Regions from separate parts of the Homo sapiens genome. Here region 1 is linked to region 2. The links are contacts of gene promoters, found by promoter capture Hi-C in blood cells and fetal thymus (Javierre and others, 2016). All regions are on one chromosome and are shown on one strand. The core of a region is centred on a gene start or on the middle of the fragment in contact, and the rest is flanking DNA. Distances in the headings are between cores, read along the strand shown.

Region 1 (6,576 bases), core at 2,038-4,537, 340 kb before region 2:
GGGAGGCCGAGACAGATGGATCACGAGGTCAGGAGATTGATACCAGCCTGGCCAACATGGTGAAACCCTGTCTCTACTAAAAATACAAAAATTAGCTGGATGTGGTGGCACTCACCTGTAGTCCCAGCTACTCAGGAGGCCGAAGCAGGAGCATCACTTGAACTCGGGAGGTGGAGGTTGCAGTGAGCCGAGATTGCCCTACTGCATTCCAGCCTGGCGACAGAGTGAAATTCTGTCAAAAAAAAAAAAACCTTAGGCCTGTAGACCTTAAGCTCTCACCATCTCAAACGTATTAAACCAGTTACACAATGCCAAATGCTGTATAAGAGGCACTTGGAGGAGTCAAATTCATAGAGACAGAAAACAGAGTGGTGGCTGCAGGGGGCTGGAGATGAGATTGGGAAGTCACAGGATTTGTTTTTGTTTGTTTGTTTGTTTTGTTTTGTTTTTTGAGAGACAGTCTCACTGTGTCACCCAGGCTGGAGAGCAGTGGGCGATCTCAGCTCACTGCAACCTCTGCCTCCTAGGTTCAAGCGATTCTCCTGCCTCAGCCTCCCGAGTAGCTGGGGCTACAGGCACGTGTCACCACACCCGGCTAATTTTTGTATTTTTAGTAGAGACGGGGTTTCACCATGTTGGCCAGGTTGGTCTCAAACTCCTGACCTCAGGTGATCCACCTGCCTCGGCCACCCAAAGTGCTGGGATTACAGGCATGAGCCACCGCACCCGGCCGGGAAGCTGTTTTTTAATAGATACAGAGTTTGTTTTGCAAAATAAAAAAAAGACCTGAAGGTGGACGGTGGTGATGGTTGCACAACAATGTGAATATACTTAACATCACTGAATTGTACACTTAAAATGGTTAAGATGGTACATTTTACTTTATGCATAGTTTACCAAACTAAAAATAAAGAAAAATTTTAGACTGGGCATGGTGGCTCATGCCTGTAATCCCAGCACTTTGGGAGGCCAAAGTGGAGAATAGTATGAGCCCAGGAGTTTGAGAGCGGCCTGGACAACACGGCAAAACCTTATCTCTACAAAAAATACAAAAATTAGCAGGTTTGGTGGCACGCATCTGCACCCTCAGCTACTTGGGAGGCTGAGGTGGGAGGTCTGCTTGAGCCCAGGAGGTCAAGGCTATGATGAGCTGTGATTGTGCCACTGCACCCCAGGCTGGGTGACAGAGCAAGACCCCATCTCAAAAATAATAATAATAAATGTTTACATTTAATAACATGGGCAATTGGTTCAGATGTTCATTTTCTCAACCTTGAAAAAAAAACAACACTGTTTTTCCCTGTCTTTTTCTCCTTTTCTGTAAACTGAAATCCTAATATCATTGACTTCCAGGACAGAGATCAGCAAACTTTTTCTACAAACAGCCAGATAGTAAATAATTTCAGCTTTGTGATCCACACAGTGGCTGTTGCACCTCCTCTGCCAGAGGAGCTGGGAAGCAGCCACAGATGATGTGAAAACAAGTGAGCACAGCTGTGTTCCCATAAAACTTTATTTATAAAAATAAGCAGTGCGCCACAGTTCGCCAGCTCCTGTTTGAGAGTCTCTCTCCGATGCCCAGGCTGGAGCGCAGTGATGCAATCTCAGCTCACTGCAACCTCTGCCTCCTGGGTTCAAGCGATTCTCCTGCCTCAGCCTCATGAGTAGCTGGGATTACAGGCGCTCGCCGCCACACCTGGCTGATTTTTGTATTTTTAGTAGAGACGGGGTTTCACCATGTTGGCCAGGCTGGTTTTGAACTCCAGGCTTCAGGTGATCCACCTGCCTCAGCCTCCCAAAGTGCTGGGATTACAAAGCGTGAGCCACTGCGCCCAGCTACCTGTCATTGAATTTGGAAGGATGGCATGAAGTCATTCATAACAAGGACTTAATCCATAGTAAGTGCCAGAACATTGCTGGCTGTTAATATGGTTATTATAAAGAGAACAATGCATGCATATTCCTCCTCTGAGGATCTCCTACCTGATTCCCAGACACACCCAAGGGAGTTAGAACATCTGTTTGGACTCCAGGTGGGCTGTCCACGCCTTTACCATTTTCCTGGTTGTTAACATGTTCCTGATCAGCACTGGGTGCTGTCCCAGGTGCTGAGAGGATTCTCCCACAATGCCCTTTGCTTTCCCCATCAGAGGGTTTATGGCACCCAATTCTCATTCACATTCTGTCTCTCCTTTCTCGTTCTTCTCTATCTCTCCTCTCTCTGTCTCCTTTTCTCTTCCTCTCTCCCTCTCTGTCTTCTCTCCCTCTCTCTCCCTCTCTCTTCCTCTCTCTCTTCCTCTGTCCTCTTTTCTCTCTCTCTCTCCCTCTCTCTCACATCTCTCTTTCCCTTCCTTTCTCTTTCCTCTCTCTTCCTCTCTCCCTCTCCCTCCTTCTGTCTTCCTCTATCCCTCTCTTCCTCTTTTTTCTTCCTCTCTTCTTGTCTCTTTCTCTCCTCTCTCTCTCCCTCTTTCTCTTTCTCTCTCTCTTCCTCTCCCTTCCTCTTCCTCTCTCTCCTTCTTTCTTCCTCTCTCTCTTCTTGTGTGTGTCTCTCTCTCTCTGTTCTCTCTCTCCCTCTCCCCCCAACTCTCTTTCCCTACACACATCTTAAGAGGCCTCAGCAGTGTAAGGTAAGTTTAGCGACCCTGTGGCTGTGTAGAGATAAGCAAAGGGGGGCAAGGAGCTCCAGTGGTCCCAGACTCCAGCCATTTGAGTCTTTGCAGCCCAAGCACTGCCCCAGCTTCTTGACAGCCCCAGCCATCACCAAAGGGCACACAGATAAGCTGCCTCCACCAAGGCCTGTGCAGATGGTAGGTTTTTGAGTAAAATAGATATGATCCTTGTCTGAAGCCACTGAGTTTTAGAATAATTTGTTATATGGCCATAGTAACTGGAATGATTGCTGTAGGTTTATTTTATTTTATTCATCCTTGCTGCATGCAACACATGCATGGCTCAGTAACTAGAAGGAAAGAAGAGAAGAAGGGAGGGAGAGGCAGAGGGTGGACAGGAGAGGATGGTAGGAAGGAAAGACAGGAAAGGAGGGTGTTGGTGGCCTTGCCTGCAAGCTGAGCAGACACCACGCAAACAGGTGACCTCCCAGTTAAGATGGAGGGGACTCAGGGCTCAGGAGGGGCAGAAGGTCCCCGTGTCGGAGAGCTGGGCAAGCTTTCTGCAGGAAATGATGGGGATCACGGCCATGTGAGCCGGCAAGATTTCCCTCAGCCAGGGAGGAGACTCCGGGCTGTGGGAACAGCTTAAGCAGAAGGCATGGGACAGGAATGCATATGAGAGATATTGTGGGAGGAGGGAGGGCTGCCTGGGCTGGCATGCAGGGTATGGGAGGGGGTGGAAGGGCTGAGGCGGGAGCCATCAGTAAAAGGACCCAGAGCGCGGCTCCAATGCCATGGTAGGAAGCTTGGCGTTGACTCAGAGGGCGCTGGGTACCGCTGAAGAGTGTTGAGCCAAGGAGGGTCATGTCACGGGCAGATACATGTTTTAGAATTTCTTCTTTTCTGGCTGAGATGTAGAGTATGGACTGGAGAGAAGCACAGGGGACATAGGAAAGGTAGTTCTAGAAAGAGGGGCTGTCCCACCAGGGAAAGTCAACCAACTGTTCCCCAGTATCCATTCCTCCCTTCCAGCTCATGGCACTAAAGCCACTGATTGATTAGCTGGGTGCTATCAATCTCTCTCTCATCTCTCTCTCCCTCTTTCTCTCCCCCTCATCTGTGTCTTTTCTCTCTCTCATCTCTCTGTCTCCCTCTTTCTGTCCCCCTCCTCCGTGTCTCCTCTCTCTCTCTTCTCTGTCTCATATCTCTCTCATTGCTCTCTCCCTCTTTCTCTCCCCCTCCTGTGTCTCCTTCTCTCTCTCTCTTTCTCCCCCATCTCTCTTTCTCTCCCCCTTCCTCTCTTTCTCCTCTCACTCTTCCTGTTTCTCTCTTTCTCTTTCTTCCTCTCTTTCTCCCTGTCTCTCTCTTCCTCTTTTCCTTTGTCTCTCTCTCTCCCCCCAACTCTCTCTCCCTACACACATCTTGAGAGACCTCAGCAGTGTAAGATAAGTTTAGCTACTCCACGGCCTGGCACGGTAGCTCACGCCTTTAATCCCAGCACTTTGAGAGGCCAAGGCAGGCAGATCACTGGAGATTAGGGGTTTGAAACCAGCCTGGCCAACATGGTGAAACCCTGTCTCTACTACAAGTACCAAAAAATTAGCTGGGCATGGTGGCACGCGCCTGTAGTCCCAGCTACTCGGAAGGCTGAGGCAGGAGAATCGCTTGAGCCTGGGAGGCGGAAGTTGCAGTGAGCCGAGACCACACCTCTGCACTCCAGCCTGGGTGACAGAGTGAGATTCTGTCTCAAAAAAAGAAAGAGGAGGCCGGGCACTGTGGCTCAGGCCTGTAATCCCAGCACTTTGGGAGGCCGAGGCATGCAGATCACGAGGTCAGGAGATCGAGACCATCCTGGCTAACACAGTGAAACCCCGTCTCTATTAAAAATACAAAAAAATTAGCCAGGCACGGTGGCGGGTGCCTGTAGTCCCAGCTACTCGGGAGGCTGAGGCAGGAGAATGGCGTGAACCCGGGAGGCGGAGCTTGCAGTGAGCCGAGATCGCGCCACTGCACTCCAGCCTGGGCGACAGAGCAAGACTCTGTCAAGAAAGAAAGAAAAGAAAAGAAAAAAAGAAAAGAATAAAGGGAGGGAGGGAAGGGAAAGGAAGGGAAGGAAGGAAGGAAGGAAGGAAGGAAGGAAGGAAGGAAGGAAGGAAGGGGAGGGGAGGGGAGGGGAAGGGAGGGAAGAAAGGCAGGCCCTGATGTTCAGGGAGCTGAGAGTGAAGTCACCGGCTCCAACCCAGGATCCAAACTCAAGTCTGTCTGGGGTCCTATCCCCGTCACCACCCCCCGCCCCGACCCATCCCCCAGAGACCTGGGAAGGAGCCAGGCTCCTCCGGTTTCAGGAAAGGGCTGCACAAACCACCCCGCCACGATCCCTCCCAGAGAACAAACAGCTCCCGGCCACCGGCAGTCTCCCTCCTCCTCCTGCCAGGCTGGTTCCCAGACCCACCCTCCCTGTGTCATAAGCGCCTCTCCCCGCACTCTCACCAGGGCTGGCTGTTCTCAGAGGAACGCCCAGGAAAAACCTACCCGAACCCCTTTCAGCTGGGAAGGGGACCCGCCTGGGCTTCCTCACCGCCGATGAGACCTCCCTCGTCGTACACTTAGAGCTGCCTGTGTTTTCCTTCCTTCCTTAAGCGGGCTGGGAACTCTAGACACTCAGGGATGGGCCAGCCCATTAGAGTAAGCATTCGGCCACCTCTAGGCTGCTACGGTCACTGCTGCTGTCACCATCAACGTGACTGTCTCACACCTCACTTCCTCCGGCCAGCCACACCCCTGCAGATTTAACCCGCCAGCCTCCCTAAGGTTTCCTCTGCCTGAAATCCTCTCTGCATTCCTGGCTCATTCTCGAAATTGAGGTCAAAGCTCAGATGCCGCCTCCTTCCCTGACCACCCTACCTGAAGCAGCCGCACCTGCCTGCTCCTAGTCACGCCGTTCCTTCACCTGTTTCGTTTCCTCCACAGGGTTTACCACAATCTGAAAGTCTTATTCATGCAGGTGTCTACTTGTTTATCTCCCCACCACACCTACTAGGATGACAATATCACAAGGGCTGGGGTTTCATCTGTCTCCTCCTCCTCTGTATCTCCAGCACATGAAACATGCTTGGCACACTGTAGGTGCTTAAGTATTTGCTACTACATCACTTTGGGATTTTGCATAGGACACTCCCAATGCTTAGAATGTCAATCTTTGCTTCATTGTCCTTGGCAAACTCCTATTCATCCTTTGAAACCCCATCCATTTATCCCTTAACCAGGAAAGGCTTCTGTGCCTCATACAACCACCCATAAAGCTGGATTAGGGCTTTCTCTGGGGACACCCTTGCCCTGTGCCACACTTCCATTAGCGCACATATCCCCCATGAATTGTGCACACCAGCAGGGTCTAGAGTACGGCACACATTTTGTCTCAGGAGCTACGTATTGAATAAATAAATTAATTACTTTTTTTGAGACAAGGTCTTGCTCTGTCACCCAGGCTGGAGTGCAGTGGTGCAATCGTGGCTCACTGTACCTTGACCTCCCAGGTTCAAGCAATCCTCCCACCTCAGCCTCCCAAGCAGCTAGGACCACAGATGCAGGCCACTATGCCTGGCTAATTTTTAATTTTTTTTTTGGTAGGGATGGAATCTCCCTATGTTGCCCAGGCTGGTTTCAAACTCCTAGGCTCAAGGGATCCTCCTGCCTCTGCTTCCCAAAGTACTGGGACTATAGGTGTGAGACGCCACACTCAGCCTCATTATTTAATATGTAAGTAGCTATATCTCTCTGAGACCCAGCCCCATCTAATTTATAACCTCCCTCCTTCTCAAGAACATGCCTCAGCTCCCATTGCCAGGGAATCTGACCTTTCTCCTTGTCATAGGATTTTTTTTTTTTTTTGAGTCAGAATCTCAGTCAGTCACCCAGCCTGGAGTGCATGGCGCAATGGCTCGCTGCAACCTCTGCCTCCCGGGTT
Region 2 (6,827 bases), core at 2,842-5,341:
CCTGGGCAACAAATGAGACCCCATTCCTGTTTTATTTTTTATCTTATTTTTTTTTTTTTTTTGAGATAGAGTCTCACTCTGTCACCCAGGCTGGAGTGCAGTGGCGCGATCTCGGCTCACTGCAACCTCTGCCTCCCAGGCTCAAGCGATTCTCCTGCCTCAGCCTCCCAAGTAGCTGGGATTACAGGCATGTGCCACCATGCCCGGCTAATTTTTGCATTTTTAGTAGAGACAGGGTTTCACCATGTTGGCCAGGCTGGTCTCGAACTCCTGAGCTCAAGTGATCCACCACACCTGGCCTACCCTATCCTTGTTTTTTAAAAAAAAGGGAGAAGAGAAAAACCATCCTACAATACAAACTCACCACTCGTTGCATAGTAAGGTGCTCCTGGGCACTTCTCAACAGTACTTGGGTGTCCTGGGTCTGGCACTGTTTGTCTTTCCAGGAAAGCTAGCAACATGGATTTTTATGTGGAAACCTTCAACCACTTCAGAGTTGATTCAGAAAAACTAAACAAAGCGCTATGGCTCAGACACCAGCAGACCTCCAGAGGCAGGAGGCAGGAGGCCCAGCCCCAGCCCAGAACTCACCAGCAGTACGTGTCGGATGCCCAGCTCAGCCGTCCAGTCCCTCTTGAGCACGTTGACGCAGATCTCGCCATTGGCGCCCACGTTCGGGTGGAAGATCTTGGTCAGGAAGTAGCCCTTGGGTGGGGAGGCAGGGAAGTCCTTCCCCAGCAGGAGTTTCATGCGGAACAGACCTCCAGCATATGGGGTCCCCTCTGGAGTGGAGGGAGGGGTACAGGGTCAGGGCACTCAGGAGTCCCAAGGCACCTCAACACCCCAAAGTCCAGTCTCCACGGTCTGATTGTGATGCAGGTGGGTGCCCCGCCAACTCTGCCAACAGACTGGAGGATTCTTTTTTTCTTTTTTTGAAATAAGGTCTCTTGTGTCACCCAGGCTGGAGTGCAGTGGCACAATCTCAGTTCACTGCCGCCTGCAATTCCTGGGCTCAGGTGATCCCATCTCAGCCTGCCAAGTAGCTGGGATTACGGGCATGCCACCAGGTCTGGCTACTTTTTTATTTTAAGAGATAGGGTCTCACTATGTTGCCCAAGCTGGTCTTGCACTCCTAGGCTCAAGCAATTTGTTCACCTCAGCCTCCCAAAGTGCTGGGATTACAGGCGTGAACCACCATGCCCAGTCAGGCTGTAGAATTCTTAAGAGCAAGAGGCCAGGTGTGGTGGCTCACGCCTGTAATCCCAGCACTTTGGGAGGCTAAGGCGGGTGGATCACCTGAGGTCAGGAGTTCAAGACCAGCCAGACCAACATGGAGAAACCCCGTCTCTACTAAAAATACAATATTAGCCAGGCGTGGTGGTGCATGCCTGTAATCCCAGCTACTCGGAAGGCTGAGGCAGAAGAATCCCTTGAACCCGGGATGGGGAGGTTGCAGTGTGCGGAGATCGCGCCACTGCACTCCAGCCTGGGCAACAAGAGCGAAACTCTGTTTCCAAAAAAAAAAAAAAAAAGCCAAGCGCGGTGCCTCACACCTGTAATCCCAGCACTTTGGGAGGCTGAGGCGGGCGGATCACAAGGTCAGGAGTTCGAGACCAGCCTGGCCAACATGGTGAAACCCCATCTCTACTAAAAATACAAAAAATTAGCTGGGCATGGTGGTGCACGTCTGTAATCCCAGCTACTTGGGAGGCTGAGGCAGGAGAACTGCTTGAACCCAGGAGGCAGAGGTTGCAGTGAGCAGAGATTGTGCTATTGCACTCCAGCCTAGGCGACAGAGCAAGACTCCGTTTAGAGAGAGAAAAAAAAAAGAGCAAGAATGGCTGGGTTCCTAGGGGGCCACAGGACCTCCCCCAAAACCTCAGAGATGATGCCCATCTTGCAGCCCCCACCTGTGTCACTATCAAGCTCGTCTGCACCCTCCTGGATCCCCCGTCTCAGCCCAACTGACCACTCCAGTCACAGGCCCTTCCCAGGTGGCAGGGACCCAAGTACGCACTTTCCTATAAGATGCCCATTTATATGCCTTTCAGATCAAGGATCCAACTGTCTGTTAATTCCACAGCCTCCCAACCCAGTGAACGCCTCTCCCACTCACCCACTTGCTTGGGTCAAAATACTGTCCCTCCCCTAGCCCATCAGCAGCCTGAGCACCGGCCTGCTAGGTCCTCCCCTGAATCTCATCCCATCTCCAAGGCTAGCTTCCTGGCTGGCCTCTGGGTTCTTCCCCCTGCCAGGCCGGCTCTCCTCACTACAGTCAATAGGAACTTTGGAGGGATTTGTCACACCCCTGCTTTAAACCTTCCACCAGCTTCCTCTACAAACTCCTTGAAGAGGCCTAGAAGCCCTAAAAGAGCTTGGCAGCTTCATCATCAACTTTCTTCATGTGTTTTTACCAAGCGCCCAGCTCCACCTGCCCAAGGGCCTTTCTGGAGCCTTCCTATTGTCATGATCCCGCGCCCTCTGCAGCAAGGCATGAAGGACCTCAACTGTCACCGCTGCCAGGTCTTTCCTGACCACCTACCACCATCACCACCGTGGACTAGACCATTCCTTCACAGGCTCTGCTCAAATCCTGACTTTGTAGGAATTCTGGTGATAACAGAAATGTAGCCTGCATGAAACAGTATTCTAAATCACTCCGCAAATCATGTGACCCGCAAATCATTCATGACCCGTCTCCCCACGATCTGCATCTGGCTTGTTTCCTCATCCCTGACACTCACAGCAGGATGGAGTTTGAGATCACCTGGCCCACCCTCCCAGGCCCTTGCTGACACCATTCCCACCACCTGGAGCTCTCTTCCCATTCCTACTTAATTCCTACCCACCCTCAGGTCCAGGGAAGCCATGTCTGAAAGCCTTGCTTCAAATCTAGAGTACCGTCCCATGATATACTAACTCAATGACCAGATATTTCTCAACCCTTGTGGGAAAAGAGTACATAATTGTCATTTGTGGCGTCCTGCCCTGTCCACCAATGCATCCCAACACCTGACACGAGGCCAGCCTGTAATGGGTACTTCCCGCTAGGGTGATCTAGAGCAGGGTGATGGAGGATCTAAGCAGCAGCCCCTTCTCTTTTTCCTTCCAAACTCACCAGGGCCCTCGATGGTGACCTGGAGGTCGGTGAGGTCCTCCTCGTTGGGAAAGACCTTGATGCCATCGGGTGGGTCTGCGGTCAGTGTCGTCACCTCCTTGTACACCAGGCGGATGATGTGCGGGGGTAGGTTCTCCACGTTGGAGTTCTGGGCACGGATGGGAGAGCAGGGTGAGCGAGTGTTAAGAGCTGGGCTTCCCGCAGGGCCTAAAGATGCTGAGACTGCCCAAGTCTTGACTCAGTGGCCCCAGGCTGTCAATCACCCTTGAACTCCCAGACCCTCACCCAGGATGCTTCAGGCCATCAGCCCAGGCAGAGTTTCCAACAGAAATGGGGGCGGGTTCACGGGGGGGCTTGCAGATAACTCCACCCACCCCAGAACCCCCCCCCCAAAGCCCGCTCCTAACCCTGCTTGGTCCCCAGTGGTTCCACGTAGGCCAGAGATCTACTCTCTCCCCCTTCTCCACTAATTTTTGGTTAGAGCATCCTTGAAACCCCGGCTCAGGTCTGGAGATGGCGGCGGGGCGTCCTTGCTCCTGGTAACACCCATGGGCGGGCCGCAAAGCGCCCGGAGCCCTCGCCGCCAGGGAGACTGCGGGCCGCCCGAGCTCCTGCTCCGCCTGCGGGAAGGCCCTCGGGCCCATCCCGGGTCAGGGACCCCCAGGCTGGCCCTCAAACCCCTCAAGGCCGCCCGTCGGAGGCCCCTGAGACTCCACCTCCTCCCTCAGGGACACCCCCGACCACCTTCATGGGCCTCATCGCCCGTGCTCACCATGGCTGCGGCCGGCCGGGGGCGGGTCCCCCCGGCCCCCTTCCTGCGTTCTTCGGTCCGCCGGCCGGGGCGGGGGGCCCAACTGCTGCCGCTGCGGCCCTGGAGAGGCCCCGGCGGCCCCGCTCCGCTCCCCGCTGCCTCCGACGTCCGCCGCGCACAGCGTAGACCAACCCGCCGCCCCGGTGCCCGGCAGCACTGAGCCGGCCGCGCGCGCACCACTGCCTCTTTATAACCGCCCGCAGGCCACGCCCTCCGCGGCCCCTCAGCTCCGAGCCTCAACCGTGACGTCAGCGCGCACGTTCCTTGGTTTTCGACGCGCTCGCTCCCTTCCCCGCAAACTATGGTCAGAAGCGAGGGAAGTGGCGGAGAGGGCTGGGTAGCGGGCCGGCCAATGGGGGCCCGCGGGGGTCGGGAGGGTTCTCAAAGAACGGAGGGGCTGAAAAGGGGAAGAAGAGAGGAAGGGGGACGGGGAAGGCGACGCGGCCGCTGATTGGACCGTTTGAATGAGACGCCGCCACGGCCCGGCATACGCGCGGGCGCGCCCTGACGCTGAGGAAGTCGCGCACGCGACTAACGGTCTTCCTGGGGGCCGGAGCGTGGCGAGGGGAGGCGGGACTCGGGGTTTTAAACGCGTGATGGAAGGCGCTCGGGCCAATAGGGATGCGCTTTAGTGACTGGTGGGTCACGAGACTCGCATGGGCCAATGACTGATAGAGACCGGTCAGAGGGCGACCCAGTTTCGTGCAGATCAAACCGCTGCCAGCCAACGAAATCCGTTGATTTTTGTATATGCAAATGAAGTGTGCGCTGCCGCCCGCGCCCCCTCCTTTGAGCCGTGGTGGAGGTGGGCGCTGGAACTCCGACTACATTTTTCTATGAGGCGCCATTTTGTGCTGGAAATGCTCTTGGACCCACGTCCTGTATTGCTAAGGCTCAAAGATCAGTCAGAATGACCTTGAAGGCTTGGACAGCCTTGCACTCCGTGTGTGACCCCCACTCCTGCCAGGCTTCATCGAAGACGCCAGCCTCAGTTTCCTTATGTGACAAATGGGCACTGGGATCCGTTGTATTGCCAGGGAAAGAAGTCAGAGAGTGCCAAGACGGTTATTCACGGCATGGTTATGCCTATGACTGACCCATGGCCTCCAGCCACACCCGCCTTCTCTGGGACTCAGTTTCCCTCTCTAGGAAATGGACACATAGCTGCCTGGAAAAGGGACCATCTCCAGCCCTCAGTGTCAGTAAAAACGTCAGGCAATTGCTTGAGAACGGTGGCCAGAGCTCCCTGAGCAGGCCTTTTGGAGGGGCTTAGAGAGGAGGAGGGAATGCTGAAGTTGGCCTTCCTTTGCTCATCTGTGCAGTGCGGTCGCAGTGCCCTCTCGGTGTCTCTGCCAGTCTGTGCGTCCACAGCTCTTCTTAGTTTCTTGGCCTTTTTCAGCCATGGATGAGAGCATTAACATCTGGGCCTAATTTGGCCACAGGTACCTGAAAAGACCCCTGGCTACCAGCTTCCCCTCATGGGGCCTCAGCTTCTGAAGAAGGAATAAGGAAGGTGTGAAAGAAATCTACATGGCCAAGGCCAGGCGTGGTAGCTCACGCCTGTAATCCCAGCACTTTGGGAGGCTGAAGCTGGCAGATCACCTGAGGTCAGGAGTTTGAGACCAGCCTGGCCAACATGGTGAAACCCCATCTGTACTAAAAATACAAAAATTAGCCAGGTGTGTTGATGCAGCCCTGTAATCCCAGCTACTCGTGAGGCTGAGATGGGAGAATCGGTTAAAGCCGGGATGTGGAGGTTGCAGTGAACTGAGATCTCGCCACTGCACCCCAGCCTGGGCAACAGAGCAAGACCCTGTCTCAAAAAACAAAAAAGCAAAAAAAAAAAAAAAACCAAAAAACAAAACCTACATGGTCGGGTACAGTGACTACGCCCATAATCCCAGCACTTTGGGAGGCCAAGGTAGGTCGATCACTTGAGCCCAGGAGTTCAAGACCAGCCTGGGCAACATAGTGAGAGACCCCCACCAATATGTACAAAACAAACAAACCCAAAACAACTGAAGAAACAGCTACAGCATAAAAAGTCATCATCATAACTAGTTTGTGGAGAAATGGCTTCAGGTGATCCCTTCCTGCTCCCTCACCCCAGGTCCAATCTATACCAGTTCCTGTTGACGTCATCTACTGAATCTCATCACGTCCCCCCATCCGCTATGCCACCAGTCCTGCTTAGAGTCAACGTCATCCCATTTTGCCGATAAGCATTTTGCTGATCTTCAATTTTAGCCTGCTGGGTGTGGAGGATTCCAACCCAATTAACAGACAAGGAAGCTGAAGGAGCAGGAGGTAAAGTGACTTGCTCGGGGTTCCCCAGCTGGGACAAGGCAAAGCTAGTGGCTAAATTCGTCTTGATCTTAAAAATCCACCCAAAAGACATAACAATAATGATGATAATACTAATGGTTATTATGTATTATTTGCTGTGTGCCAGACCCTGTTCTAGTTTCTTTACATGCTTGATGTCATTTAATCCTTGTAACAACCATAATGGGTGGATATTATTAATTATTATGATCCCCTCTGGATACCTGCATTTATTCAATACATTTGTTCTTCTTTATTAGTGTCTACACTCTAGCTGTCAGGATGCTATGGGATACAGCAGAGAATAAAAGGGACAAAGCCTCGACTTTCATGGATCTTACATCCTGGTGCGGGAGCCAGATAGCAAGTAAGTCTATACCATCATGTCAGCAAGTGATAAAGACTGAAGAACAATCAGCAAGTGATAAAGACAGGAACAATTAGTGGGAGGGGGAGGTTTGAGAGGGAGGGATGGGGCTGCCATTTTACCTTGGCTGGGCAGGGAGAATCTGTCTGAGGAAAGGTCATTTGGGCTGTTGGAAGGTCTATGGGAAAAGCATTTTGAGCAAAGGG

What was found. Contacts are between HindIII fragments. The CHiCAGO score rates a contact against its expected background, and 5 or more counts as called.
Region 1: a fragment that was not itself captured here is called in contact with the fragment with the promoter of UBE2S in region 2 in 6 of 17 cell types (non-activated CD4 T cells, erythroblasts, activated CD4 T cells and 3 more); the score reaches 8.8 in non-activated CD4 T cells.

The regions. Positions count from the first base shown.
Region 1 is chr19:55,064,181-55,070,756 of GRCh38, forward strand. It overlaps a transcript of RDH13 not described here. Among named protein-coding and RNA genes, the nearest start is that of RDH13, 4.3 kb to the left of the region's middle. RefSeq lists a silencer at 1,978-2,178. The HindIII fragment of the contact is 249 bases long and covers 3,164-3,412 here.
Region 2 is chr19:55,403,697-55,410,523 of GRCh38, forward strand. It overlaps UBE2S (ubiquitin conjugating enzyme E2 S), which reads right to left and starts at 4,092. Exons shown (of 4, transcript NM_014501.3): 1 at 3,891-4,092; 2 at 3,119-3,266; 3 at 592-782. The coding sequence starts at 3,893. LOC105372462 (a long non-coding RNA gene) reads left to right here and starts at 4,449. Exons shown (of 3, transcript XR_936075.3): 1 at 4,449-6,236; 2 at 6,515-6,621. RefSeq lists enhancers at 126-626, 627-1,127, 3,555-4,068, 4,425-4,719, 4,741-4,850 and silencers at 3,721-4,190, 4,201-4,260, 4,271-4,320. The HindIII fragment of the contact is 9,685 bases long and covers 1-6,827 here.